Linked DNA regions of Homo sapiens: region 1 is linked to region 2. Evidence: promoter capture Hi-C in 16 types of primary human blood cells and fetal thymus (Javierre and others, 2016). All regions are on one chromosome and are shown on one strand. Each heading gives the region's core, a stretch centred on a gene start or on the middle of the fragment in contact. The rest is flanking DNA. Distances are from core to core; before and after follow the strand shown.

Evidence for each region. Contacts are between HindIII fragments. The CHiCAGO score rates a contact against its expected background, and 5 or more counts as called.
Region 1: a fragment that was not itself captured here is called in contact with the fragment with the promoter of LSM10 in region 2 in 2 of 17 cell types (neutrophils and naive B cells); the score reaches 5.8 in neutrophils.

What each region holds. Positions count from the first base shown.
Region 1 is chr1:36,280,846-36,283,545 of GRCh38, reverse strand. It overlaps THRAP3 (thyroid hormone receptor associated protein 3), which reads right to left. Exons shown (of 12, transcript NM_005119.4): 3 at 846-1,013. The coding sequence starts at 982. Among named protein-coding and RNA genes, the nearest start is that of SH3D21, 24 kb to the left of the region's middle. The HindIII fragment of the contact is 1,739 bases long and covers 436-2,174 here.
Region 2 is chr1:36,396,644-36,399,343 of GRCh38, reverse strand. LSM10 (LSM10, U7 small nuclear RNA associated) reads left to right here and starts at 1,436. Exons shown (of 2, transcript NM_032881.3): 1 at 1,436-1,577. RefSeq lists enhancers at 867-1,578, 1,579-2,291. The HindIII fragment of the contact is 5,014 bases long and covers 1,044-2,700 here.

The DNA of each region.
Region 1 (2,700 bases), core at 56-2,555, 120 kb after region 2:
TACAAAGATTCCTCTTCAGCACACCAATTTAAATACACCAATATTTCCCAAACTCACATATAGAAACTTGTTATTTACTGAAAGCTTCTTATCTATCCACAAAAGAAAGTTTAAACACTTTTAAAGAATGAAAAATCCAACTCACAACACACCAAGAGAGGAAAGACGCTGGAGGTTTGGCATCCTATTCCAAGACATAATTAAAATAGGGAAATCCACCTGAAGGTGTGAAAACTGACTGAATTAGGAAATACTGGCAATAAATTCAAAAGAACTGTGCTCATATTCAGTAAGATAAAGTGATGTTTTCAATAGCGATTTTTAAAAAGTTTTAAGATACATTTACTAAACAGATGCAGCTTGTTAGTAATTGGCACATTGTATACAAATTACTCCTGATAAGTTTCTGTAAGTTTATTTTAGTGAGTTGAAGCTTCTTTTCCTTGCCATGTTGTTCATATTATTAATCCTCTTAGCTATCCTTTCTTTGCAGTGATGCACATAAACTTTGGTTCAAGCCTTCAAAAATAATTTGGTGAAAAATAATCAGCTATAGAGATTTGAAGCAAGCAGCTCAAATAAAAATAAAATGTTCTTTCTTCCAAAGTGGGTGGGAAATACTATGTGCTGGCAGAGGAAAGGAATCAGGCAATCAGCATGGCAGTCAAAGCTGATCTGGATTTGTAGTTTAAAGAGACCTGGAATATCTTATAGCCCAACCCTGCACCTCAAGCCAACCCCCCAGTCCATTTGACACTCACAGGAAAAGTCTAACAAAAGATCTTCAAACATCCACATCGACTGATGCAATGATTATCTCAATATACAAAGTCACACCCCCTTACCTCAGCCTGCGCTTCCTTGAACGAGAGAGAGATCGGCTTCGGGACCGAGACTTCGAAAATGAACGAGAACGAGATCTTGATGCAGATCTTGAGCGAGAAGAGCGAGATCCAGACTTGGATTTGTTTGTTTTTGACATCTCTGAAGAGAGGATCACTTTTCAATTACACCTAATGTAAGAAAATGCATTAGAACAAATGAGTGAGTTCCTTTGCAAATGTGAACCTCTTTGGACATTTTAGAAACACATTTCTTTTAATCTGGGCAACTTGAGAAGACCCCATATCTACAAAAAAAAAAAAAAAATTTTTTTTTAATTAGCCAGTCACAGTGGTGCGTTCCTGTAGTCCTAGCTATTTGAGAGGCTAAGACAGGAGGGAGTGCAAAGTTACAGTGAGCTGTGATCACACCTCTGCACTGCAGCTCTGGAGGAAAGAGCAATACCCTATCTCCAAAAAAAAAAAAAAGAGAGAAAGTGGCTGAGCACGGTGGCTCACGCCTGTAATCCCAGTGCACTGGGAGGCCAAGGTAGGAGGAGGACTGCTTAAGTCCAGGTGTTCAAGACTAGCCTGGGCAACATAGCAATATCCCGTGTCTACAAAGTTAAAAAAAAAATTTTTTTTTTCTTGAGATAGGAGTTTTGCTTTTGTTGCCCAGGCTAGAGTGCAATGGCTTAATCTCAGCTCACCACAACCTCCGCCTCCCGGGTTCAAGCAATTCTCCTGCCTCAGCCTCCCAAGTAGCTGGGATTACAAGCATGGGCCACCATGCCCGGCTAATTTTTTTGTATTTTTAGTAGAGACAGGGTTTCTCCTTGTTGGTAAGGCTGGTCTCGAACTCCCGACCTCAGGTAATCTGCCCGGCTCGGCCTCCCAAAGTGCTGGGATTACAGGCGTGAGCCACCGTGCCTGGCCTACAAAGTAAAAACTTTTAAAATTAGCTGGATGTAGTGGTAAGGGCCTGTAGTCCTAGCTACTCCAGAGGCTAAGGTGGGAATGGCCTGAGGCCAGGATTTTGAGACCAGCCTAAGCAACATAGGAAGATTCCCCCACCTCTACAAAAAAAACAACTGTTTAAATAAAATAAACTTTAAAAACAGAAAGTAACATTAAAAAAAAAAAAAAGATGAAATGACTGATTTTTAAAAACCACTCTGCTCTTTCATCAAAAGGAATTTCTTAGTAGTACAAATCCCAAACAGACCAAGCCACAGCAGCAAATGGAAAACCTGACATGTAACCCTAACTGGGTAATACTGTAAGAGATGACCAAGAATGAGGGTGCTTATTAATTTTGGTGCATGCAGTCTTTTCTCAGTAAGCAAAGAAGCTTTGAGACTAAAGTCAGCTGTTAATAAAAGTAATGAGGAGATGTGAGACAGGTTTCCTAGTTCCAAGAGAAGAAACCGCATGCAATTTAACTTAGTTACAGAGTATGTGGCACATCTAGTCATAAAGAACCATCAATTTGTTCCAGCTCTTTATTACAAAAGAGTCAGCTGGGGGCGGTGGCTCACGCCTGTAATCCCAGCACTTTGGGAGGCTGAGGTGGGCTGATCACCTGAGATCAGGAGTTCAAGACCAGCGTGGCCAACATGGTGAAACCCCATCTCTACTAAAAGTAGTGGCGGGTGCCTGTAATCCCAGCTACTCAGGAAGCTGAGACAGGAGAATCTCTCGAACCCAGGAGGCAGAGGTTACAGCGAGCCAAGATCGCGCCATTGCACTCCAGCCTGGACGACAAGAGCAAAACTCCGTCTCAAAAAAAAAAATAAATAAAAATAAAGAGTCAACTTTCTTTCAGGGTCATTTTCCCACCAAGAAACAAATAGTCTTTTTCCTTTTTTCCCCCTCCAGG
Region 2 (2,700 bases), core at 187-2,686:
TGCCCAAAGTCACAATTAGCCAGGAGTAGATTTGAACCTAGGCACTGTATCCGGAGGCTGCACTCCTAACCATGAAATCTAAACTCCTTACCTTGGCTCACAAAGCCCTATATGCTCTGGTTCCTGCTTCCTCTCTGGCCTCTTGTTATACCACTCTCCCCAGCTTCCCTGGCCTTTCCTGTGTTCCTAAATTGTCAAGGTCATTTCCCCCAGGTTCTTTGCATGAACTGTGAAAAGAAAAAATTTAACTTTTAATTGGTGATTTGACTTTTTTTTGCCAAATTTGTTAAATCTGACTTTTATTTGCAACTCTAGAATCGGGCAACACTTCATTCTATAAAATGGAATGAGTGTTCAAATGAGCTGAGCAGAGGAGATTGGTTTTACAGCCAGAAAAGGGCTGAGGAAAGCAGAAACAGAAAACAAAAAGATTGGTTGTTTCAAAGTTACTTTCCTTGTAACTTTGAAGGCTAAAGCAGAGGGGACTTCCTTATCCTGCCAGCTAAAACAGGATGGTTTGGAGATCTAGCTATCTCTCACTCTTCTGATTTATCGGAATATCAGATAAACAACTTAGTTTCCACTTGGTGATGTAGAACTTTAGCATGAGTGACTCCATTTTGGTTCTGTTGGGCTTGGTGCAGGAGCCCTGTTCAAACCAATGGCCTCCAATTTTTTTTTTTTTTTGAGACGGAGTCTTGCTCTGTTGCCCAGGCTGGAATGAAGTGTTACTTTCTGAGCTCACTGCAGCCTCCACTTCCTGGATTCAAGCAATTCTCCTGCCTCAGCCTCCCAAGTAGGTGGGACCAGAGGTGTACGCCACCACGGTGGGCTAATTTTTTCTATTTTTTGTAGAGACAGGGTCTCCCCATTGTTGCCCAGACTGGTCTCGAACTCCTGGGCTCCAGTGATCCTTCCGCCTTGTCCTCCAAAGTGCTGGGATTACAGGTGTGGGCCTCTGCACCCGGCCCTGCCTCCTATAAATTTTACTTAACAAACTGTTCCCGCTAATTGCAATGCTCCTCCCATAGTTTTCACAAGCTTGGCTTCATGTCACTAATCTCAACTCAAATGTCACCTTCTCAGGGCACCCCTGACAATCCAATAAAAGACCACCTTGTCACCATCACATCACACCTTTAATCTTCTGAAGAAATTTTTCCCTATTTTTCTTCTTTGTTTTCTTAAGACTCTCTCCCCTGCAGCGCCATCAGCTCAGGGAGCCACTTGATCTTGGTCACTGCTCCATGCCGGAGCCTGGGAAGGAGCCTGGCCCAGGTCGCCGGTTCAATGAATGCGTGCGGAATGAATGAACGACTCTAGTGAAAGAGACTCCAATGACGCAGGCCGGGATTTGCGGAGCACGAGCCCCGCGCCGCGAAGCATTCTGGGGATTGTAGTTTCTCCGTGACGCGGTGACTTGCAGAGCACTGACGCACTCTGCGCCCGGAGGACAGAGCGGCCCGGTCGCCGGCATGGTTTCTCCGTCCTGCTGCAGCCGGCGGGAGGCAGCCAGTCCAGGCGCCCGCTAGCTTCGGCGGCGACCCAGACGGGGAAAGCGGAAGGAATGTCGCGTGGTGGGTCCGGGTCGGCGGTGCAGGGAGCCCCGGGGCGGAATGCGGGGGATGCCAGGACCTCCGGAAGGAGGTGCCGGAGCCCAGGAAGCGTTTTCTTCCCCATTTACCGAGTATAGCTCCTTTCCCCAGACCCGCTCCCGCTGCTCTGAGTAAGCGGTGCTCATCCCGTTTTACCGGTAGCTTAGCTAGCTTGGAGAAGCTAAGTGGTTTGCTAAGTGATCGCCCTCCTAGGAGGTGGCAAAGCCTGTTCTAGAACCCGGGCCTGACTCGAGGTCCGGTGACTGCTCTTTGCAGTCGCAGCAGCAGCCCCATACCTTTGCTTGATCGCAGATTCATCAGGCTGCAGCCGGGTGGCTGGTCGTTAGGCCATGCCCAGGGACCTAGCTCCCAGGCCCCCTCGTCACTGGCCTAGTCTGGCTTGCCACGCTCAGTGCCACAATGCACAGCCCTGGACGGGATGCTGAGTGAGGTCGTAAAGAGAGAGCGTTCCACCCCCTTTAACTCAGGTCTGAAAATAAGGGATAGGTAAGACATAGTGCACTAATACATTATCAGGGCATGTTGAAATCAAAGGAGAGTACCTTTAGTGGAGTGTGATTCTGGTAGCTTTGTTTCTCCTGTAGTTTAATAAATGTGGAAACAGGTTCAGAGACATTAACTTTTCTAGGTTTTCATAATTAGGGGTGGAGTGGGGATTCCAACCTAGGTTTCTCTACCTTCAAAACCTATGTACCTTATATAATACCGGTTGGGGGTTTTTTTCCCCAATTCATTATCCAGATTTATTTTCTTTTTTTTTTTCTGAGAGTCTCGCTGTGTCACCCAGGCTGGTGTGCAGTGGCACAATCTTGGCTCACTGTAACCTCTGCCTCCTGGGTTCAAGCGATTCTCCTGCTTCAGCCTCCCAAGTAGCTGAGATTACAGGTGCGCCCATGCCCAGGTAATTTTTGTATTTTTGGTAGATACTGGGTTTCACCATGTTGGCCAGGCGGGTCTTGAACTCCTGACCTCAGGTGATCCACTCGCCTTGGCCTCCCAAAATCCTGGGATTACAGGCGTGAGCCCTTGCACCCGGCCTCATTACCTTAATTTCTACTTACATAACAGCTGCATGGTGTAGACC